Regions from separate parts of the Homo sapiens genome. Here all the other regions are linked to region 7. The links are contacts of gene promoters, found by promoter capture Hi-C in human tissues and cell types (Jung and others, 2019). All regions are on one chromosome and are shown on one strand. Each heading gives the region's core, a stretch centred on a gene start or on the middle of the fragment in contact. The rest is flanking DNA. Distances are from core to core; before and after follow the strand shown. Region 1 overlaps LOC105373893 (a long non-coding RNA gene). Region 2 overlaps LOC105373893 (a long non-coding RNA gene). Region 3 overlaps LOC105373893 (a long non-coding RNA gene). Region 4 overlaps LOC105373893 (a long non-coding RNA gene). Region 5 overlaps LOC105373893 (a long non-coding RNA gene). Region 6 overlaps LOC105373893 (a long non-coding RNA gene). Region 7 holds the start of EPHA4 (EPH receptor A4).

Evidence for each region. The method cuts DNA at HindIII sites, captures the fragments that hold promoters and counts their contacts. A contact is called where the count stands out against the background at its distance.
Region 1: a contact is called between a fragment that was not itself captured here and the fragment with the promoter of EPHA4 in region 7, in 1 of the 25 tissues and cell types used here (lymphoblastoid cells).
Region 2: a contact is called between a fragment that was not itself captured here and the fragment with the promoter of EPHA4 in region 7, in 2 of the 25 tissues and cell types used here (heart right ventricle and lymphoblastoid cells).
Region 3: a contact is called between a fragment that was not itself captured here and the fragment with the promoter of EPHA4 in region 7, in 1 of the 25 tissues and cell types used here (dorsolateral prefrontal cortex).
Region 4: a fragment that was not itself captured here is called in contact with the fragment with the promoter of EPHA4 in region 7 in 1 of the 25 tissues and cell types used here (dorsolateral prefrontal cortex).
Region 5: a contact is called between a fragment that was not itself captured here and the fragment with the promoter of EPHA4 in region 7, in 1 of the 25 tissues and cell types used here (H1 embryonic stem cells).
Region 6: a contact is called between a fragment that was not itself captured here and the fragment with the promoter of EPHA4 in region 7, in 1 of the 25 tissues and cell types used here (lymphoblastoid cells).

The regions. Positions count from the first base shown.
Region 1 is chr2:220,216,665-220,220,124 of GRCh38, reverse strand. All of the region lies in intron 2 of LOC105373893 (a long non-coding RNA gene), which reads right to left. Among named protein-coding and RNA genes, the nearest start is that of MIR4268, 310 kb to the right of the region's middle. The HindIII fragment of the contact is 4,714 bases long and covers 1-3,460 here.
Region 2 is chr2:220,155,320-220,158,746 of GRCh38, reverse strand. All of the region lies in intron 2 of LOC105373893 (a long non-coding RNA gene), which reads right to left. Among named protein-coding and RNA genes, the nearest start is that of MIR4268, 250 kb to the right of the region's middle. The HindIII fragment of the contact is 8,724 bases long and covers 1-3,427 here.
Region 3 is chr2:220,317,742-220,320,879 of GRCh38, reverse strand. All of the region lies in intron 2 of LOC105373893 (a long non-coding RNA gene), which reads right to left. Among named protein-coding and RNA genes, the nearest start is that of MIR4268, 410 kb to the right of the region's middle. The HindIII fragment of the contact is 3,042 bases long and covers 113-3,138 here.
Region 4 is chr2:220,401,515-220,404,571 of GRCh38, reverse strand. All of the region lies in intron 3 of LOC105373893 (a long non-coding RNA gene), which reads right to left. Among named protein-coding and RNA genes, the nearest start is that of MIR4268, 500 kb to the right of the region's middle. The HindIII fragment of the contact is 3,727 bases long and covers 1-3,057 here.
Region 5 is chr2:220,348,216-220,351,338 of GRCh38, reverse strand. The region is part of intron 3 of LOC105373893 (a long non-coding RNA gene); the gene reads right to left. Among named protein-coding and RNA genes, the nearest start is that of MIR4268, 440 kb to the right of the region's middle. The HindIII fragment of the contact is 3,770 bases long and covers 1-3,123 here.
Region 6 is chr2:220,294,117-220,297,369 of GRCh38, reverse strand. The region is part of intron 2 of LOC105373893 (a long non-coding RNA gene); the gene reads right to left. Among named protein-coding and RNA genes, the nearest start is that of MIR4268, 390 kb to the right of the region's middle. The HindIII fragment of the contact is 5,750 bases long and covers 1-3,253 here.
Region 7 is chr2:221,570,273-221,573,702 of GRCh38, reverse strand. It overlaps EPHA4 (EPH receptor A4), which reads left to right and starts at 1,399. Exons shown (of 18, transcript NM_004438.5): 1 at 1,399-1,545. The coding sequence starts at 1,455. RefSeq lists silencers at 1-93, 144-423, 1,024-1,443. The HindIII fragment of the contact is 17,926 bases long and covers 1-3,430 here.

The DNA of each region.
Region 1 (3,460 bases), core at 5-2,504, 1.4 Mb after region 7:
TGGGAAGACATACACCTGAATTAGCATAACAATAACCTACACCAGAGGAATCAGACAGAAAAGTAATTCACATTTATAGTTTGAATTTTAAAACTAACTATAAAGTAGAAAATAGGGTACTTTGCCACTAGCTCCAATAGCATTAAAGAATACGTGTTGGTATTATCAGTATTTCTCAAGCAAACATGTCTAAATAGAAATGAAAATTGTGCATCAATCGAATGCAGGTTAACAACTGACATATCTACACATATTTTATCTGGGGATCTTAAAGGGACTCTGTCTGATTATAACTGGCATGCAAAAGAGGTGAATTCCAGCTGCAACAGAGCAGAGGACATTAAACGCCACCCTATATATCAAAAAAGGTGGGTCAGACTAGAAGAGTGTCATTCTGAGCAGTGAGCTCACCCCAGGGAGGTTGGTGCTAGAGAAACAATATAATTCTAGGCTTTTGTTTTCTAATCTGGCCCCACCCTCTACTGTATAGAACTGTTTACTCAAAAGAACAAGAATCATATTCCCTGTGTCAGTACAAGTGAAACACACCCTTTCTGGGAGGCTTAGATGACTTGGTTCAGGTATGAGAATTGGTTTGTTGCCCTCAAAGGAAGTCACCTCAAACAAGCCAGCACAGGCAGATGTGCCCTGGGAACTGGCAGCTAACTCCAGGCTGATCTGTCTGCTGATGTCTGATAGTCCTCACTGGGAGATGAAAGGGCAGGGGAGAACCCAATACCCTACTTCTGACCTGCCACCAAAATAAAAATCTGCCTTGTGGGGATCGACCTCTAGCTGCTAGTTCTAATCCATAAGTAGGGTTTCATAATGGAAGGGAGAAAAAAAAGAGGGGAATTAGATTTTTAGTATCACAAAGTAAGACTGTACACTAAAAACCATACCTAGGAGCAAGCAAAAGGAAAAGAATCAATGTGAGTCCAGTGTTCAGGTTTGTTAACTGATCTGGTTTGACTGTGTTCCCATCCAAAATCTCATCTTGAATTGTAATAATCCCCACATGTCAAGGGCAGGACCGGGTGGATATAATTGAATCACGGGGGCAATTTCCCCCACACTGTTCTTCTGATAGTGAGTTCTCATGAGATCTGATAGTTTTATAAGGGGCTTCCCCCTTAGCTTAGGTCTCATTCTTCTTCTCCCTGCTGCCATGTGAAGAAGGGTGTGTTCGTTCACTTCCCCTTCTACCACGATTGTAAGTTTCCCAAGGCCTCCCCAGCCATGCTGAACTGTGAGCCAATTAAACCTCTTTCCTTTATAAACTACCCAGCCTTGGGTATGTCTTTATTAGCAGTGTCAGAATGGACTAATACATTGATTTTCCTTGGGGCTAGGAAATATCTTGCCCATCTTCTGAAATTTTCCTTCATCTCTTCAGCCAGGATGGTTATTTAACCAGTCCTTAACTTCATTTTAAATTTCAGCTCCTTAAGATGTCTCCTTCATAGGATTTCATCACCTTCCTCTGACCTTCTGAACCTTCCTGAATGCCCTCACCTCCTTCAGAATCCAAGTTCATATTCTCCACCTACCCACCCCAAACTGGCTGCTCCTGCCTGGGCTTCCTCCTTCTCTCCCTGAATCTATCTCTATGGCTCTGCTTATAGCCTTTCTTCCTCTAAAGGCTGCTTGAGTGGAAGATGGAAGAAGGCTTTCCAGAAATCTCTATCACACTGCTAAAGTAACTCTAACCAACTCTCCTGAGCAGCTGCTCATTTGTCTGACTCTGGGCAGGGCTCTGTTGTTTTACTGTGTCTTCCTTAGTGATTATTGTATGCCTCGTGATGGGGTACCCCACACACACCCCTCCAAGGAAAATCCCATCTCTTCGCTGTCATCTAATCGTCTTCTGTCTTCAGCACTGAGCTCTGCCTGTTAGTTCACTGGAAACCCATAAATACCCTGGCTGTGTGTCTGGGCCTAAATGGGTAGATCAAGGACACACAGAAACAAGCTAATCCAATTAGTATCAAGCCCAACAAACAATCAAACTCATCATCTAATTTCAGCCACTTATCCAATGTGAGGAGAGAACCTAAGTTAACGAGATTTTGTTGTTCTTGGTTTGGTTCTGATGAAGATACATAAACCATGTTGTTATACCACAATACTTCTTGATTTTTTTTTAACTCAGCTTGAATATTCTTTCTGTGCTATTGGACATAGGTCTATAGTCACTGGGACTCCAATTTCTGAAACCAGAATTCAGTGGCACAGTCTGATGAAGGAATTTTTCCTATGTGTAAACTGACATAAAAGGAATCGTTAGAAAAGTATCTCAATGATATAAAATTAAGTACTCTTTATTTTTACACTATCAAATTATCACCTTTTTAGATAAGAATAAATTATATTGAGAATTTGGAAAAACCAAGAACATCTGATCACTAGTAGAGCAAAGAAATTTTTTAGTTCCTATAATTTTTCTACGGTCATCTAGAAAATAAGCCTGGTCAAATGATAAATAAGAATCTGAGATTACTGAGAGATGCATTTGTAGATCTGTTTATTCTATGTCTCTGACCTGAACTCTTTGCTGCAGAAGAAAAATATGAAAGTGTGTGCATCTTTTGGAATAAATCCCTGGCACCCCATCAAAACAAACCCAAAACGAGGTTTGGGACCAGTCAGACAGTGGAGCAGAGCATGCCGAGGGGACAACCAGAATCAAGTTCAGAGCTTCAGTGAATGGGAAGTAAGCAAGAGGGAGGGACTGAAGGGACAAAGACAGCAAAGGTAATTCAGACACAGGCTGTGCCCAGCGAACAACTCTCATTCTCACAAATGCCAGAGCACCACTGGGGGCTTTACAATGTAAGAATAGCCAAAAATGATCTTTTCTGTGTGTATGTGTGCTGATCAAAGTGATTTCCCAGCAGGACTGCTTTAAAAAGCACCACAAAAGTAAAAATTTTCTCAGAACCACCTCCTTTTTGTGCTCCTGAGCAAGCTCAATCTCAAGAGTTAACTTCATGGAAGTACTCGTAATGTCTGTTTATTAACATTTATCTCAGACACAAGCAGATTTTGGCCACTGGTTTTTATACGGCAGTGGAGGAGGAGTTCTAAGGAAACACTCATGATTTATAAGATGAAACCATTTTCTGATCATTTGCCACTAAAGGGAGGAAAGAGATTAATTGGCATGAAGCAATTTCCAAGGTCGGCTCAGTGACTTTTCACTGATGGGCAAACCATATTCCTAGCATCATAGAATTTTAAAGCTAGGCAGGACCTTGGAGATCATCCCACCAACTTCCACATTTTCCAGATGAGTTACCAAAATCAGAGATAATCAGCAATTTTCACAAGGTGACACGGTGCTATTGGCAAAGCCAGAATTGAAATAAAGGTCCCGGACTCCACATATATATTCAGCTATATCCTGTTGCCTTCTTATTAGCTGAGAAGCCATCTTGGCTCATCATCTCTCGGGAAAATA
Region 2 (3,427 bases), core at 155-2,654, 1.4 Mb after region 7:
ATACGCTTCAAAAAAACTATAGTACACCTATTATTAGTTGTTTCTCAGTTTTTTTCTGCAGTTTGGACTAAATCCTAAATTCTCTGTGGACTACAAGTCCCCAAACTAATGCTTTCAAATCTTCACTTTTAAAAGTGGGAATTGCACTCCTTATCTTAGTACTCATTATTTACCTTATAATACGTTGTTCTCTTGAAGGCGGTACTAAAACTATAGATGACAATACTAATGCCTTTGTCATGCAAGCCTTGGAATCCCAACCAGGCCTGCGTGAATATGTTCAGTTGCAAAGCAGTTCCACTCCTCTCGCCTTGGGGTCAACACCTACCCCAACTACACCACGGGTCAGCAGGAAGAAGAGTGGTCCTCACCTTTTTCCCATCTCCATTAACCAACACCTTAGGATTAAGGTGTTATAAAACCCAAAGGGAGGGATTGAAACTGCCATTGCAAAATTATAACTGAGACAATGAAAGAGATCTGACCTAACCAGCTCCAACTGGCTTCTAATCTCCAAGCTGTCCTTGTTCCTTCCTGGGCATAGACCAAACTAACTTTGGGAGGAACTTAGTTTATAGTGCATAGTTTGAAACAAAGATGATAACAGCCCTTTCCCTAAACAAACCCCTTGTTTTGCCTGGGAACTAGACTGCCTTTGTAGGACTAACAAATTAGCCACAAGATTCAAATTATGGTTTAGGAGTTATGCAGCTGGAGGCTACAAGATTCTGATTCGGACCCTCCCCAAATTGCTCCTAGGGATAAAATCATTATAGTAAAACCTAAGAGGAGTGCCTTGAGATATTTTGTAGACCGTGCACTTGATGGATCAGCTGGCAACACCCAGATCAATAAACTGGCTCATCCGATCTTGTGCCCCCAACCCAGGAACTGACTCAGCACAATAAGACTGCTTCAACTCCCTATGATTTCATCTCTGACCTGACCAATCAGCACTCGCAGCTCACTGGCTTCCCTGCACCATACCCACCAAGTTGTCCTTAAAAAGTCTGTCCTTAAAAAGCTCAGGGAGACTGATTTGACTAATAATAAAACTCCTGTCTGCCTCAAAAAAAAAATATATATATATAGGTTAAAGATATATCTAAAGATACATCTGAATGTCCCAGTTGGGTAGTACTCCCTAGAAACTAGAACAGTGGCATCTGCTAAGTGAAGCCCAAATTTCTTCTTTTCTTCCAGGCAACAGCTAAGAAACCCCCACTAGGGGTCCGCCTCCAGAATGTGACTAACAACCTCAGATTGCAGTCTTGTTTGGTGAGTGACTGAGGCTGCAGTACCCTTTGCTCAGGTGTGACAGGCACAGCAGACATCTCATGCTCCACATTACGTAAGTGAAGTCGGGCTGAATCCTTAACTAATTGCTAACCTGCCCTGACCACCACCTAAGGCCTTACTGCCCAAATTGCTGATGAGATAACTGTTGGCCAGGTCCACACTGCTAAGATAAATCGTACTCGTGCAAGTAGCCATCGCCCGAACATTTAATTGACCAGAGAATGCTCCAAAAGGAGGAGTTGTGTGTCTCCCACTTGACGAATCCAAGCACAGAAAGAGGCAAGGTCAGGCATGTCTTTATCAGTCAGAAATTGGCACCATCACATCAAGCTGAGAGAGGCAAAAAGGTTGGAGATGGAGTGCCGTGGGAGCCTCTAGCCCAGTACCAATGTACACAGACATACACAGAGGACAATTTATAAGCCAGGCAAGCAATCTCCACCTGTCCACCACTGAATTCACTACTTGCTTCTGAAGTTCTTAAGTTAGGTTTCCTTGACTCTTAGACACAATTCTTCTCTCCTTCCCACCAGAAGGTAACCTCTAAGATTCTGCCCATCCTGGAACTGTTAATAAAAACAAACAGGCTACACCTTCAATCAGACATTCTCATCTACATGCAAATACATCTAAGGTGCCAGATCTATTTCACCTTGTCAACATCTTTTCTCCATGTACCATTAAGCATTCCCTATGCTGCTATCCAGCAATTAAGAGAACCTAGTGTCCACTAATAAGCTCCCAGATACAAAAACATAAGAAAGTTTACCTAGTCTGGGCTTATGGAAATATATCACACTTTATAGCTGAAAGGAGAGACAGTACACTTCTAACATTGCTGGAGAAAAGGGACTTGTTTCCCAGGTGTCCTTGTGGGATTAGTGGAGGGAGGCCTTCTTTACCAGGCAACATCACCGTGGCTCTAATATTCACTCCCTTTAGTTAACTAACCCTTCCTTCACAAGGTAAATAAACCCTTATATTGTCTTAGGAGAATAGAGAGCAAATCGTTCACAAGTAAATGTGAGTGTGATTGGGTTGTTTCTGTCCAATAGAAAAAGGTTAATGGTGACAGAATGGCCATTTGTTGGGTTGGAGGAAAAAAGGCCAGTGTGGAGCACTAGGCTATGCTGGGGAGGAGAAGAGATTTCCAAGTGTGGATTCCAGGCTTTCCAGTGTCCGTGAGGTTGGGCCTGTGTGGACCCACACACTGAAGATGCAAGGGATGAGAGCAGGAGGACAGCAAAGTGGGAGAGGGAAGCAGAGAAGTGTGGTGCCAGGGAGCCATTCACATATATCTGTGCTGGGTTTTCCATACTGGGAATGGTCACAGATGTACCCAGCATCCGTCTAGTGGGGCCTAGAGCACCCAGAGTCCTTGTGGCCATCACTAGCCACAAATAGCTGTCTCCTTTTAACCTCCTTTTACCATCCAAATAGTGCCTTTTTTTATGTGTGCCATGATGTGACAAAGGTTAGAAAGCCCTGCTGTAGCCTAATGGTGTAACGGAGTAAATGGGCTTTTAAAAATATATCTCTCCATTTTTACTATAGTTAGCCACTTGAGGGCCTTTCCTAAAGCCAGTCATCCCAGGTTTCTGCACCATCATTTGTGCCCCTATCTTCTCATCTATGAAATGAGATCATATTAGATGATCTTTAAGGTTTAAGGTTCCTGCTGGCTCAAGATCTCTGCTGTCTTCCTGACCTTCACATTCTGCAAAGCTCTACCACTCCCTTCCATGGTCCCATCCTGGGACTCAGCTTAAATGCCACCTTCTCAGAAACGCCACCTTCTCAGAAACGCCACCTTCTCAGAAACGCCACCTTCTCAGAGAGGGGTTTAACTGGATTAAACCCCTCTGCCATATTGTACTTCCCCTTTGAAAAGTCTCAGCACACTTGCAATTACTTCATCCATTCATTCATGCGGCAAGGATTTGTTGAGGGAGAATCCTGCCATACAAGTGCGTGGTCTGAGAGACTGGACTGACGGATTCCGATCCCGGTGCTGCTTACTATCTGGGTGACCTTGGGTAGGTTACTTAACTTCTGCGTGCCTCACTTAGTGACAAAATGAAATTAATAAAGGTGTCTACATCTCAGGGTTGTCGTAAGGGTTAAGTGA
Region 3 (3,138 bases), core at 384-2,883, 1.3 Mb after region 7:
AAGGCCCTAGTTGACTAGTGGACCGTAGAATTTCTTTGGGTCCTCAGGAATAAGCATAATTTCAGAGCCAGTGTTCACTGATCCCCCATTGTCTGAGTACTTGCCTTTCTCAAGTATTTTCCTCCCTCCTTCCCCGTTTCCATAGTCACTCATAAATGGAAGAGTTAAGCGAATATTTAAAAACAGTAATACAAATCTACTCAACTCTCTTGCTTCTTTTATTTTTCTTCATAGCACTGATTGCTACTCAAATTACATCTTTTTTTTGTTGCTATTTGGTTATCTTTCATCTTCTTTCTTTCTGAGTAAAACATAAGCTCCAGGAGGATGGTATGTCTTATTCATCACTGTTTTTCCCCAGTGCTTGGAACAATGCCTGGACACCAATAAGTATTTAATAAATACTTGTTGAACAAACGAACATTTCTAGAAGGTAGTTTGGCAATATGTATCAAAAGCCTTAAAAATGCATAAAGCATATAGCCTAAACATTAGACTTCTAGAAATTTTAAACTTCTTGAAATTCATCCTTAGAAAACACTTACATTTCAGTAAAATTTAGTATTGAAAGAATTATTCATCACAGCATAAAATTTGTAAAAGTAAAATAACCTAAACATATGATCAGAGATTATTAATCCATTAATTCAACTTATACTTCTTAAGTACCACTAAATACCAGGAACACCTGGCTCGGTGCCCAGTATACTACAGTTAATAAGACAGATATGATCCCTCAAGGAGCCCAGAGAGAAAGATGTCAAGAGACTATTTTGCTTTTTATTTTTCAATGCAGCAAATACACTTATAGATACTCCACTAATAATAGCAATAATAATGAGGATACTTTACATTTGCATAGCACTCCTCGCTTTTCAAAGTAATTCTCCAGCTATTATATTTCTTAAAATTAGGTCATATTAAACTGCACTTGAACTCCATTATTAGATCTTTTCTGAGAAGAGAGTTGAGAGACTGTTGGCCCTTTTACATTAATTATGGACATATAAGATGAATTAATCAAATTCTGCTGTATTTGCTATTAAGGTCAATTGTGTGGGGAAAAAAAGTCACTCTGCAGGGTTTACAGTAGGATGCAGCAGAGAGGATTGTATAAAAAAATCAAAGGTTTTAACAATGATTTTATTTTTAAATAAACCCTGAACCCGTTGTCTGGATGAAGCCTCACTAGTAGTCTGCATGAACACCACCATTTTGGAGATTCAAGTTAACTGGCAGAGATAGTTTACAGTGAAGCTTCAAGGCCTCAAGTTTCAGGGCCCTTTCTTTGCATGGGCTGTGGGAGAGGAGTTTGCAAGGTATTCAATGGCCATATGTTTTTGTAAATTTGACAAAAAGATTTTTACCTCAATCAGTTTAGACTGACATGTGCCTTTTTTCATCAGACTTCTCCTCTTTCACTTTTATCTTTTTTTTCTTTTCTTTTCTTTTCTTTTTTTTTTTGGAGATGGAGTTTTGCTCTTGTCCCCCAGGCTGGATGGAGTGCAGTGGTGAGATCTCGGCTCACTGCAAACTCTGTCTCCCATGGTTCAAGTGATTCTCCTGCCTCAGCCTCCCAAGTAACTGGGATTACAGGCACATGCCACCATGCCCAGGTAATTTTTGTGTTTTTTGTAGAGATGGGGTTTCACCATATTGACCAGGCTGATCTCGAACTCCGGACCTCAAGTGATCCACCTTCCTCAGCCTTCCAAAGTGCTAGGATTATAGGCATAAGCTTCCGTGCCCAGCCCACATTTTTCTTTCATCAGGTGGCACTACAGGGGCCACAGCCAGAGCTTTCCATAGGGTGTGCAGAGCCCCCAAAAATATTTTTGTGAAACCCCTGTCTATATAAACAACTTTATGGAATATTACAAAATTAATGGTCCTGTAGGAGGTACAGGGATGTGTCAACAAAGACTTAGAATAATGAGTAGATGAGAAATTTATGTATACGTCTGTTGTCCTATCAAGACACATGAATATCCTTTGTAGTATCCAGGGACCATCTTTGCCCATTCTGGGCCAGAAGCCATTTCTTTTTGTTCTATACAATCAAATGTGTGGTTTCTGGCAAGCTTCATAACGCCCATCATGAGAAAAAAGTAGCATACTCATTACTCACAATGCATGGCTCAGTGTGTGTGTGGGTATGGGGGTGTGGGTGTGTGGGTATGGGGGTGTGGGTTTGTGGGTGTGTGTGTGTGCACACATGCCTGTGTATGTGTGCACATTGTTTGTTTTGAGACAGCATCTCACTCTGTTGCCCAGGCTAGAGTGCAGTGCCACAATCATAGTTAACTGTAGCTTTGAACTCCTAGGCTCTCTCAGCCTCCCCTATAGCTAGGACCACAGGTGGGGGCCATCATGCTTGGCTAATTTGTGTGTGTGTGTGTGTGTGTGTGTGTGTGTGTGTGTGTGTGTGTAGGCACAAGGTCTCACTGTGTTGCCCAGGTTAGTTTCAAACTCTGGGTCTCAACCAATCCTCCCGCCTCAGCCTCCCAAAGTACTGAGATTACAGGTGTGAGCCATTGCATCCTGCCATGGCTTTTTGAAACCTGTTTGTACTGAAACAATATTGATCCTCTAGCCTCTGCAGTCTCCTAATGCTATTTATTTAATGCTATTTACATGATTACTCATAAGCCACATCACCCATTGTGCCACCTAGGGATACTGGCTTCCAGTGACCCTCGAAGTTGTTACTGTATTTATTTGATTATGAACATAAATTCCAGTCTTACCCAAAGTATACAGGAAAATGTGAACAATGATTTATATGCTGGTCAGGTTAAATTTACCATTTGTTACTTTATAGCCTAAGTACAGAACAACATACCTACCATCTATTTCTCCTCTTAAGTTATTTAGGCCAAATCATTGTGTTTCTAGAATGTGATCGTTTACCGTTTTGACTGTACCACCCGCTTCCACACACTGGGGAGGAGAGAAAGAAGGATCACGGGAGGAGGGGGACGAGTGATCTCATTCCTACAAAGAATGCCCATTAAGCATTAAGCATGGCTTAAGAGTGACCTGGGAGAATATGACATCACCATATCTCACCATACCACCTCCCCAGGCGGCAAAAAACTGCACTAATCGGAAGGGCCCGCTGACATTACAGAGCAATAG
Region 4 (3,057 bases), core at 86-2,585, 1.2 Mb after region 7:
TTTTCATTATAAATTACCCATTTTTGAGTATTTCTTCAGAGCACCATGAAAACAAACTAGTACAATACCCAAAGGAATATAAAGCATTCTACCATAAAGAAACATGCACATGAATGTTCATTGCAGCACTGTTCACAATAGCAAAGACATGGAATCAACCTAAATGCCCATCAATGAAAGACTGGATAAAGAAAATTGGTACATATACACCATGGAATATTATGCAGCCATTAAAAAAAGAACAAGATGATGTATTTCATGGGAACATGGATGGAAGTAGAGGTCATCATCCTTTGCAAAGTAACCCAGGAGCAGAAAACCAAATACCACATATTCTCACTTATAAGTGAGAGCTAAATAACGAGAACATATGAATACTAGAAGGAGAACAACAAACACTGGAACCTATTTGAGGGTTGAGGGTGGGAAGAGAGAGAGGATCAGAAAAAAAATACCTATCAGGTTTTATGCTTATTACCAGAGTAATGAAATTATCTGTGCACTGAATCCCTGTGACACGCAGTTTGCCTATATAACAAACATGCACATGTACTCCTGAACATAAAATAAGTGTTAAAAAAAAGTAAGCAGAAGAGAATAAATAATGAACATCAGAAAAACAATCAATAAAACAGAAAACAGAAAAATGGTAGATAAAAATTAACGAAACCTAAAGCTAATACTTTGGGAAGATCAACAAAATTGATAAACATCTAGCCAAACTAATCGGAAAAAGAAAATAAACATTAACGTGTTATAGTTCCTTTGTGATGCTAAGGAATACCTGAATCTGGCTAATTTATTTAAACAAGAGATTTATTTGTCTCAAGTTTCTGCAGGCTATACAAGCCTGGCAGCAGGATCTGATTGGCTTCTAGTGAAGCCTCATAAAGCTTACAATTATGAAAGAAGGCAAAGGAGGAGCTAGCATATGGTGAGAGAGGGAGCAAGATAGAGAGAACAAGATAGAGAGGGAGGAGTTGCCAGGATCTCGTTGTTGTTGTTGTTGTTGTTGTTGTTGTTGTTGTTTTGAAACAGAGTCTTGCTCTGTCACTCAAGCTGAAGTGCAGTGGCATGATCTTGGCTCACTACAAACTCCGCCTCCTGGTTCAAGCAATTCACCTGTCTCCACCTCCCAAGTAGCTAGAATTACAGGCATGCACCATGCCTGGCTAATTTTTGTATTTTTAGCAGAGACAGGGTTTCACAATGTTGTCCAGGTTGGTCTCAAACTCCTGACCTCAGGTGATCCACCTGCCTTGGCCTCCCAAAATGCTGGGATTACAGGCATGAGACACCATATCTGGCTGGTGCCAGGCTCTTTTAAACAGTCAGATCTCATGTGAACTCAGAGAGTAAGAACTCACTTATGCTATGAGTACAGCACCACACCATTTAAAAGGGATCCACCCCCATGACCCAAACACCTCCCGCTAAGCCCACCTTCAACATTGGAGGTCACATTTCAGCATGAGATTTGGAGGGGATAAAACATCCAAACTATTTCACCCAGCCCTTCAAGTTTCATGTCCTTCTCACATTGCAAAATACAATCACCCCTTCCCAATAGTCCCCCAAAGTCTCAACTTATTCTAGCATCAACTCGAAAGCCCAAAATCTTATCTGAGACTCAAAGCACATTCCATGCACCTATGAGCCTGTAAGATTTTTTTTAAAAAGACATTTACTTCCCAGATACAATGGTGGTACAGGCATTCCTATTCCAAAAGGGAGACGTCAACCAAAAGAGAGGGACCATAGGCTCCATTCAAGTCTGAAATCCAGCAGGGCATTCATTAAATCTTAAAGCTCCAAATAATCGTCTTTGGCTTCATGTCCTGCATCCAGGGCATGCAGGTGCAAGGGGTGGGCTCCTAAGGTTTTGGGCAGCTTTGCAGGGTGCAGCCCCTGTGGCTGCTTTCATGGGTTGGAGTTAAGAACCTGCAGCTTCTTCAGGCTCAGAGTGCAAGCTGTTGGTAGCTCTACCTTTCTGGGATCTGGAGAGCAGCAGCCTCATCCCCATGGTTCAGCTAAGCAGTACTTCAGAGGGGATTCTGTGTGCAGGCTCCAATCCCACATTTCTCCCTCAGCACTGACCTAGTAGAAGCTCTGTGGAAGGTGGGAGGGTTGCTCTACTCCTGTGGCAGGCTTCTGCCTGAGTATACAGGCTTTCCAATACATCTTCTGAAATCAAGGCAGAAGCTGCCAAGCCTCATTCACTCTTACATTCTGCACACCTGCAGGCTTAACACCACATGAAAGCTGCCAAGGCTTACTGTTTGTGCCCTCCAGAGTGGCAGCTCAAGCTGCACCTGGGGTGCTTTGATCTGTAGCTGAAGCTTGAGAGGCAGGGTTTTGGGGAGCAGCCTCCTAAGGCAGCTCAGGGCAGCAGGACCCTGGGCCTGGGCCTGATCCCTGAAACCATTCTATCCTCCTAGGCTTCTGGGCCTGTGATTGGAGGGGCTTCCTGTAAGGTCTCTGAAATGCGTTCAAGGCTTTTTGCCCATTGTCTCGTTTATTAGCCCTTGGCTCGTTTTTAGTCACGCTAATTTATTTAGCAAGTGGTTGCTCCACAGCCCACTTGTATTCCTCTCCCGAAAATTCTGTTTCCTTCTCTACCACATGGCCAAGTTGTAAATTTTCTAAACTTTTCTGCTCTGCTTCCCTTTTAATTATAAGTTCCAACTTTCAGTCATTCCTTTGCTCTCATATCTTATTACAAGCTGTCAGAAGCAACTAGGCCACATCTTGAGTGCTGTGCTACTTTAAAATTTCTTCCACCAGCTATCCTAAGTCATCATTCTTAAGTTCCAACTTACACAGATTCCTAGGACATGAACACAATCCAGCCAAGTTCATTGCTAGGGTGTAACACAAGTGGCCTTTACTCCAGTTCCCAATAACTTCCTCATTTCCATCTAAGACTTCATCAACCTGGACTTTACTGTTCATATTTCCATCAGCATTTTGGTCACAACCATTTAACCAGTCTCTAAGAAGTTCCAAACTTTCTCTCATCTTCTTCTCTTCTGGTGAACTCTCCAAACTCTTGAATTT
Region 5 (3,123 bases), core at 203-2,702, 1.2 Mb after region 7:
TGGCGTAGAGTTGGTTTGAACACAGGTGTCCTGATTCCACTTCAAGACTTGACCAGATGACCACAAAGTACTCTTCCAGCTCAAAAACTCCATTCCTGTTACCTTTACAGTTTTATCTCTACTTCTCATCCACTCAGAGCCAACTCTTTAGTTAAAGTTGACTTCTGTTTCCCAAGCATGTTTTCCTTTGCTTATGTAGCCCACTTTTCTCTCTTAAAAAAAAAGTCTTATGCCATTGAGCCAGTTAAAGTCCAAAACAATTGAAGTTCAAAGGAATCCATGTCCAAATTGTATTCTTTTACCTTGTTCAGTCAAACAAAATTAAATCCTAGAATTCATCCTTGTATTAGTCTGTTTTCACACTGCTGTAAAGAATGGCCCGAGACTGGGTAATTTATAAACAAAGAAGATTTAATTGACTCACAGTTCTGCCTGGCTTGGGAGGCCTCAGGAAACTTATAATCATGACAGAAGGCAAGGGGAAGCAAAGACTTTCTTCACATGGCAGCAGGAAAGAGAAGAGCAAAGGAGAAACTTCCAGACACTTATAAAACCATCAGATCTCCTGAGAATGCACTCATTATCCTGAGAACAGTGTGGGGGAAATAGCCTCCATGATCCAATCACATCCCTTTCTCGACCCATGGGGATTACAGGTCCCTCCCTCGACACATGGGGATTATAATTTAAGATGAGATTTGGGTGGGGACACAGAGTCAAACCATAGCAACTCTCTTCCAGTTATTCTCTGTCTTCACCAATGGGGTTCCATTAGTTCCCTTTAACAGCAACAGCTTGGGATGTCTCCTTCAGACTTGAATGTGGTTCATTCAAAGCCTTTGAAGTTATATCAATCTAATGCAAAGCTTAGATGAGCTTCATGTTTTAAAGCATCCTAGGAGTTAATAAAGCTTCCAAGAAAATCCACCCACCAAACTTGGAGAGAGCCAATCTCTAACCCCTAAAGGAGCTGCCTGAGACAAAATTATGAGCTGAGAACATAGCATTGCCAAAACCATAACAGTGACTCAGTGGTATCTGAGTGAAGAAGAGCAAGGTGTAAGCATTTTTTTTTTAGCCAAAGTATGGCTATCAGTTGCCTAAAATCCACGATCTATGAAGTTCAGTGAGCAGACACCTACCAATGTGGGTTAATATTTTACGTGTTCCCTGTATCCCACACTTCTTAATTTCTCCCATACACTCTTGCCTTCTGGTACTGCCCTGAGTCTGGCCTCTATCTAATCATAACATCCACCCTCTTTTGACCAGGAATGTTCAGTCTTTGTCATATGGGCCACTTCCATGCCTCTCTTACAGAATTACTTAGCCCAAGGAAATCTGCCTGCCAGAGAAGATATTTGACTTCATTCCCACATTTGTTTCAGCTGAAGTTCCCCCTTCCCCCATGCCCCACAAATGGATCCCTGAACTGAAGCTTTAATGCTATTTTCATGCCCAGGCTCTCAGGGGCCTAGTCCAGACCCTTTGCCCCATGCGTTCTTCAAGACACTGGCTTCCTCTGACTTGAATTCCGTATTTTCTTTGGCATGGATTTTAGGATGTATGCCCACCTATAGAAACTGAATCTCCTTGAAACTCACCCATAAGTTCTTTGAATATTTTTCATTTTTGAACCTGTGGGCTACTTACATGAATTCAGGCTTAGTCTCTCTACAGCTTCCTCCCTGCTCCTGAATGCAGAGTGGGATTCAGAACAGCCAATCTAGCATTGACTGGGTTAACATCCAGGCCTAACATTAGTAAGCTAGAACTTCACCAGTGCTTTGTAAAACCCAGTTGCCTTGACCTTTAAATGCAGCTAGTATTGTTCTACCCACCAATGCCTAAAAGGCCAATGGAGAAGCTCTTGCTCAATAATCACATGTCTCAGCTTCAAGTCTATCAGCCAGACCTTTGCAAGAAACCAAGGTGTGAGCTCTCTGTCACCCCCGTGAACTAGCTGAAGTTTCCCACAGATGTTGTTCTCTCCATAAAAATAGCCTCTTGCCTATGGACAAAACCTCTATAAATTTCCATCATTCACCAAAGACAAAATATCGTGTGGCTGTCTTAAAGATCTCACCCAGGTCACAGTAGTTAAATGTCAGCTACATAACTATAAAAATGCATCTGCAGTTTTTTCAAACCTCCACAAATCACCAAAGTCAGAGGACCCTTCTCTCATACTAATTCCATGACTAAACACTGCGCATCTTGGCCCATCTTGCCACAAGTATAATTTGCTTTCCAAATTTCACTCTTTCATTTTAATTTTTCAATACCTCTGACCAATACCAAAAATACTGGAAGGTTATAAAGTCATTTACCTGAAAACTGCAGTTCCCGTCCTCCTGACAACAACTTAGCAGCAGAAGGTGCCATGGAACAAAGCAATTCAGAGCAAATACCCTGCACAGGGAGGCGGGCTCCCTGGAAAAAGGGCAGAATCAAGCCAGTTGTTCTTCCCAAGTTTCCTAGTCAATATGTCCCCCAACTTCAGCAATGGGAAGTGAGCTACAGGGTAGAGAAAAGGCAGGAGATTTACTCAGGGAAAAAAAAACATCAGGACTAGGGTGAACAATTACCCCTTCACAATGTCCTGTTCATCCCCAGCAGCACCTAACAGAGAGCTTTTCATTTAATGAATGCTCAATATATACATAGTTATTGGCATGAAATTGAGTTGGAAAGAAACCTGGATGTTTTTCCTCTTCTGTTTTACTGTCACTCCAACAGAAGACCTTTGCAGATGTGCAAGAAGCAAACCCACCTGGAATGCACATTAACTCCTAGATCCCCCCCAACTCCCAGCACATGGGGTTAGTGGAAGGATGAGATTTTTTTTTTTTAATGAATCTAAGAGGTTTAATTGGAGAGTCCCTTAAAATTAAGTTCACAATCAGTCATTTCTTACTCTGGCACAGGACATGTTTCCGACCAGCTGTTCTAGCCTGTTTTTCCCTCGTGGGCTAGTAGAAAATACTAAAAAAGCCTTTGCCTTGGAAACTTCACTGTACTTACTGTCCAGGTGGCTGTCCCAAGGCTTAGTCAAGGCCAAGCTTCCTTCATATCTGCATAATTACAGAATGTTAAACCCAGAAAGGATAACACAAACCATCT
Region 6 (3,253 bases), core at 29-2,528, 1.3 Mb after region 7:
GAGCAATTCATCTGATAAATGTTTATAAGCAGGCATTTTTGAGCCACTCTAGCCCTTGTCCAATATACCACGGACATTCAATTTGACAGCTGTTGCTGAAGAATTTGAATTCCAAATGAGTGGCATGACCCTGTAGCCCTACATTTCTAGAATGCTAAGATTCAAATGAGTATCAAGTATTTGAGTAAAGAGATCCAAGTCTGGTACCTCTGTAGTAATGGTGTGTGTAGCTTTAGGCATGGCACTTGACGTTTCTGGAGCTCAGGGTCTTCCACTAGACTAGAATCCTCTTGAACCCAGAAACCATGTCATTTTTATCTCTGCACTTAGTAAGCACTCCATAAATTTTTGATGAACGAAGGACTCCACGATGAAGAATTATGTTAATTAAACCCCAAAGTCCTTCTCAGTTAGAAGAGCACCTAGCACAGGGCCCGCATGTCATGACCACTCATTAAATATTCAAGGTACACATGAAGACACAATTGAACAGTCTATAATTTCTGATTCTGTTATAAGCAAGATGTTGCCCTAGGCACCGCGGTGTCTCAGTAAGAGCTAAGATATTGTCCCTGCCCTCACAGAACTCAAAATTTAGCCCAATATTAGCTGCAAAGACAAACAATCAGGGAGCAAGCAAAACACCTTAGATTCATGATGTTTTATCTGCCTTGGAACACCAGGATATTTCAAGTTCCACCTCTGACTGGCAATATCACTTTTTATTTCTGCTTCTAATAGACACATAACTAAAGGCAAGGGCTAATGGGATGTCAAAGCAGTGTCATCACAGCCCCTTAATTGATGTGAAGGTGCTTGCATAACTATACAAGGCAAAATGATGTTCTCACTGATGGGAGATATAGAATGTACAATTTGCATCTCATCAGAAAAAAAATATTCATTGGTTTCCTCTACAAAGCACTAATGTTCCTCAATACTGCTGACTGTGCTATTTTGAGAAATAGCCAGCATGCCCTCTGCCGTTAGAGAGTAAAAGGAAATACTGCCTCCCCAGGTGTCAGATTTCCTTTCTATAATGGAAGGATGTGTGGGACAGCATTTCAAACACAGTCACAGAGGAAAAAGGAGGCTGACAAGTAAGATGGATGAATGAGAGGGAAAACATGTGTTGAGAAGGAAGCTGTCAGATGTAGATCCCGTTTGTGCAACAGAAGTGTCCTAATTAAAAGTGCCCATCATAAGAGTCTTTGGGGAGGAAAGAAAAAAAAGGAAGCCCACATCTTTGCAATACTAGAGATCTCAGAGAAGAGGCATGGCTCAGGGGCTCCACTGAAAAGCTGCATTCACATTGGTGGCCGTATCCTGGCATCTTGGATATTAACTGCCTCTATACCTCAACCCAGGAAATCTGCATCCTCACCAAGGAAGGCTTTAAATATAAATAATATCACAAATTTAGTTGACGTAAGGAAGTTGAAAACACTGGGGTGTTACTATGCAATTTGAGGCTCAGTTCTTCCAACTTCTCATCAATAATGATTTTTTTCTTTCCCACAATTGGAGTCCTGAACCTTCTGTGTTTACAGTGACATTCGTCAATTCCCTAGATACACCGGGTGAAATTAAATAAAGGACTGCAGGGAAATTTGTCTATAGAACATGAATCTTTAATGGGCCTTCATCCCTATAAGTCGTATACCAGAAAGAGACTTGCAGAAACAGATCTAGTATGCAGCCACCCATGACGGCTAGGTGGATGCGAACAGATAAATGAGTATCCCTATTCCTCTTTTGCTTTAGTTATAGCAAAGAGGGGCTGGATTCAATAAACTTTGAGGTCTTTCCACTCTGACCTTCAGACTCTGTCATTTTTCTCAAATTTCCCTCCTCCTTTCTAGGAAGTACATAGGGGCCACTGTTAATTTGTGGTGGATTTGTAGTGGGAGGAAAGTGGTGGTAGTTAAGAATGTGGGCTCTTATATTAGACTGCTCAGGTTCAATCTCATCTCTACCACTCACTATCTGTGTGACTTAGGACAAGTTACCTAAACTCTCTGTGTCTCCATTTCCTCATCAATAAAATGGGTCAATAATAGTACCCATACCTCACACAGTTGCTAAGATCTAATGGAAAAATCTATACAAAACAGTTATTATAGTGCCTGTTACATAGTAAACATGCAGGAAGTGTTTGCTGATGTGAGAGAATACAATCACTGCACACATGTGAGAGGATACAATCTCTGCCACACATATTGTCGGAGGCAGACCTGCAGAAGTGGAGTAACTGCAGGAATCAGGAGAGGGATCCTTTGTTACAAAATAAATAAATGCTACTTGCTGATGTCAAAATTTCTTTTACAGTGTAAAAAGAGAACAATAGCACACCAGTTTGAGTTCATATTCTGTTGTAAATAGATGTATTAGTCTGTTCTCATGCTGCTAATAAAGACATAACTGAGACTGGGTAATTTATAAAGAAAAAGATGTTTAATGGACTCACAGTTCCACATGGCTGTGGAGGCCTCACAATCATGGTGGAAGGCGGACAAGGAGCAAAGGCACGTCTTACATGGTGGCAGGCAAGAGAGTGTGTTGCAGAACTGCCCTTTATAAAACCATCAGATCTCATGAGACTCATTCACTATCATGAGAACAGCACAGGAAAAACCCACCCCCAGGATTCAATTACCTCCCACTGGGTCCCACCCACAACATGTGCGGATTATGGGAGCTACAATTCAAGATGAGATTTGGGTGGGGACACAGCTGACCCATATCAATAAGTTTTACTTATTTATTGACTGATTGAAAATAGGCTTATAAAAAAGGTATTTGATGGAAGAAAGAGAAAGAATACAAGGATAAATAAATGATCTAGCAAGGGGAAAATATATGAATGAAAGCAATTTCTGTTACCTTTAATATTGCTTGGTTTCATTGTTAATCTTATGTTTATTTATGGATCAAATGGATTTGTATCTTTATAAGCACCTTCTTCAAAATGATTCAGAAGACTCAATATGGGGAGGCTATATTCAGTCTATATTCATGATTAGGTCATATTCAAAAATTTGGTTTTATTAAAACAGATCTCATCCTGAATCGCAAGAAGGGCCTTCCATTGACAGACACCCTTGTAGATTTTTACATACTCTAAAATATTACTACTGCTAAATACAGGTGAGTCACTCAGAGTGTCCCTGAGGGTTTGACTCCACCAGCAGCCCTGCTATAAACCTGAGAACTTTGGGCCAAAGGCCATATGTTGAAAAAATACCTTAACACT
Region 7 (3,430 bases), core at 150-2,649:
CGGCAGGTGGCGCGGTTGGCTCACGATGAGCTGCGGCCGGGGCTGGAGAGGCTCCTCCACCTCCCAGCGGCCGCCCGGCCGCCGGGACCCAGGCTCCCCAGGAAAACTCGGCCCTGCTCTGGAGGGAGTCAGAGGAGGGGCGGCCTGGGAAGGGGAAGGGAGGCCTCATTGCTAGGAATCAGTGCCCCTGCCAGCGCCTGGGGAAATGCACCGAGTGGCGTTGGGGACCGGTCCCTGGGACACCGGCTGCGCTGCCTTCGCCGGACCGCTCTTAGGTGGCCGCGTCCACGGCTCGGGCATCGGGAAAAGACCACAGCCCGATGGTGCCAGTGCCCCCGGGGCCGGAGCAGCCGGGCGGGGCTCTGCGGGTCCTCCTGCTCGCCGTCTTCTCCCGGGGCAGGGAGGGCTGCCCCGGCTAGGTCGGAGCGGAGAGTCGCAGCAGCCGCTCCGGGCAGCTTCCCAGTCCCGGTCTGCCTTGTCTGTGCGGCTGCAAGTCCCCGCACCCACACTTAAGCCTTTCACTTCTACCCCACCGCTCCCAGACGGGCTAGGCCCGGTTCCAGGGACTGCCCCCAACCCTGCCCCCGGGAAATCCACAACTGGTTCCCTGCCCAAGGCCATCTCGGGGCGTCCTGGGCCCTGGGCGAGGTCCACGGCGTGTGCAGGGGGACGGGGCCAGCGGGGACTTCCTTACTGCTAGAAAGTCATTCGTTCAGTCTCTGGAGACAGTGACGGAGCCCTGCTGCGGACTGGACGTTGGGGACCAAGTAGGTCCCCGCTCTCCAGGCATCTGGGGAGCCAGGGAAGAAGCGAGTGATAGAGCCACAAAACTCCCCGCAAAGAGTATTTCAGAGGGGGAAGCGCCATAAAGACAAAACAGGGCAAGGTGGCAGAGGGTGGCGGTGGCAGGCGCGAGTCTGCAGCTCAGCCCGGGCGCGCTGGACGCAGACACGTCGACTCTCCTAAAGAAGCAACCGCAGGTCAGCTTAGACTTCTTTTATTTCAATAAAAGAGCGTTTTCCTCCATCTTAAACCGCCCGTGGTGGGAGAAAAGGTTTCCAACCTCTTCTCTGGCTCCCCTCGGTCAATTCCGAGCTTTTCCAAAGTCCCTCCGCCGTCCAGGGGCTCGACCTTCGAGGTAACGTGGGGGATCCCGCTGGCTCCCTCCGGCAGGCGGGGGCGGGGACCGGCCGTGCTCGCCCCCTAGAGCCCCGGGAGACCGCGCGCCCCGTGGAGCCCGGAGGGGGCGGAACCCTGGGGCGGGCCCTGCTCGGTGAAGGCGGGGCTCGGCCGCCCTGTCTGCGCCGCCATTGGCCGCGGGCCCCGGACTGGCGGGCTCACGTCACCGGCCGGGCCCGCCCCCTTGGCAATGTCTTCAGCCCGCTGCTCTCCTAACTTAAGCATTTATTCCACTGGGATAGAAGCGGCAGGAGCAGCGTTGGCACCGGCGAACCATGGCTGGGATTTTCTATTTCGCCCTATTTTCGTGTCTCTTCGGGATTTGCGACGCTGTCACAGGTTCCAGGGTATACCCCGCGAATGAAGGTAAGAGCGGGACGGCCTTTCTGTGGTCGGGGACAGCGAGGGGCCATCGCGGGTGAGGGGTCCTCAGGAGCGCAGGGCCAGGTGGTGCGGGGGGAGCCCAGTGTGAATGGTGCGTCCCGATTCGGGAGAAGGGGGCTGAGGCGAGGGGATCGGCGAAGGGGCAGCGGGGAACCGCCGGACAGCCTGCCCCGAGGCGGTGACCCGTGCACGCGGCGGGTCTGTCCAAGTTTGTAACCAAAGGCCAAAGTTTATCAGCATCCGCCAGAGAGGCCCGCTCGAGGCGCCCTGAGGGGATGCACGGGAGACAACGCCGGGATTTAAAAAAAAAATTACAAGAACCACGTCCTCTCCTGAGCCAGCCCGGGGCGAGGGGAAAACGCAGCCTGGAGCACAGTGAAGGCTTGGTGCTCCCGGATTCTAGCGAAAGCCTTTCGAGCTCTGGTTTCTGCAAAGTTTCCCGAGCCCTGCGCTTCTCGGGACCGGGCTGCGGGGCCTGCTCCGCAGCGCAGCGGTCGTGGCGCCGCTCGTCAGGCGCCAGTGACCTGATTTCTAGCACCCGGAGTCAGACACCTTTCTCCTCGCCAAGCCCAGCGCCCCGAGGGTGCGATTGCGGGCCTGAGGGGCCCGAGCTCTTCGCCCCGCAGACTTGGGGAACCCGCCGGCAAGTTGAACGCAGTCGAGTTTTAGCTTTTCGCCCCAGAATTGCACACAGTTTAGAGCTAACGTGCGGGGTCGACGGGACCCGTCTGGGTGCTCAGTTTTCTGTGCATCCGTTCGGACGTGCTGGGAGGATTGTATGTGCCTGTGTGTCTGTGTCGGGAGGTGGGGCGGGGCGGGGGGGCGGTGATCATTTAGTTTCTGAGAAACCCAGGGAGAGGCGAACTGTGTGTGTGTGTGTGTGTATGTGTGGTGTGTGTGTGCATGTCTGCGTGTGTGTGCATGTCTGCATGTGTGGTGTGTGTGCATGTCTGCGTGTGTGTGCATGTCTGCGTGTGTGTGCCTGTGTGTGTGCGCGCGCGTGCAACTGCGTGTATGTAGGTGCGCGAATGCCTGCGTGGAAGCGGACGCGGAGGATTGTATGTCTGTGCGCAGATGTCCTGAGTGTGTGCGCGTGTGTTCGAGTGTATGCTCGTGCTCTGTTCCAGCGTATGCTGGTGCTCTGGCCTGCGTGCATCTAGTCTCACATCCGTCTCTCATTCTTCTCCTTTCCGGCATCCATCTATCTATCCGTCCGTCCATCCGTCTATCTATCCATCCATGCATCCATCCATCTCTCCGTGCATCCGTCCGTCCGTCCATGCATCCATCCATAATGCATCCATCCATATATCTGTCCGTCCGTCCGTCCATCCATCCCTCCATCCATCCACCCATTCATCTATCCATCCATCCACCCATCCATCCATCCATTCATCTTTCCATCTCTCCAGACATCCGTCCATCCATCCCTGTGTAATCTATCGTTTTCTCTGTTCCGAAGGAGGGAGCCAAAAACCAACTTAGCCTTGGCTGGGCAGCCGGTACCCGGAGCCCTCCAGACGGAGGCTCTGAGAGATTTATACACCTGCCCACAGACATCGCTTGGGAGGAAAGGGGCCCTCTCTCGCCCTCTGGATCTCCCATCTCCTTCCGACGTGGCTTCTGGTGGTTCTGGTGCCATCTCGGCCGTCGCCGCCCCTCGGTCCCTAGGGTTATTCATTCCCCTGAGAGGAATCGTGGATCCCGCGTTCTCCTGGCCACTTCACACACTTGTTAGGACGTCCCCTGAGACCTCTCTCGCCCCAGATGTAGAGACTGTTTTCTTTCTTTTTTTTAAACCCCCTCTTTTTTTGGGGGGGGGGGAGAAAAACTTGGGAGCCCAAGACAAAAAGGCTCTGAGAGCCCT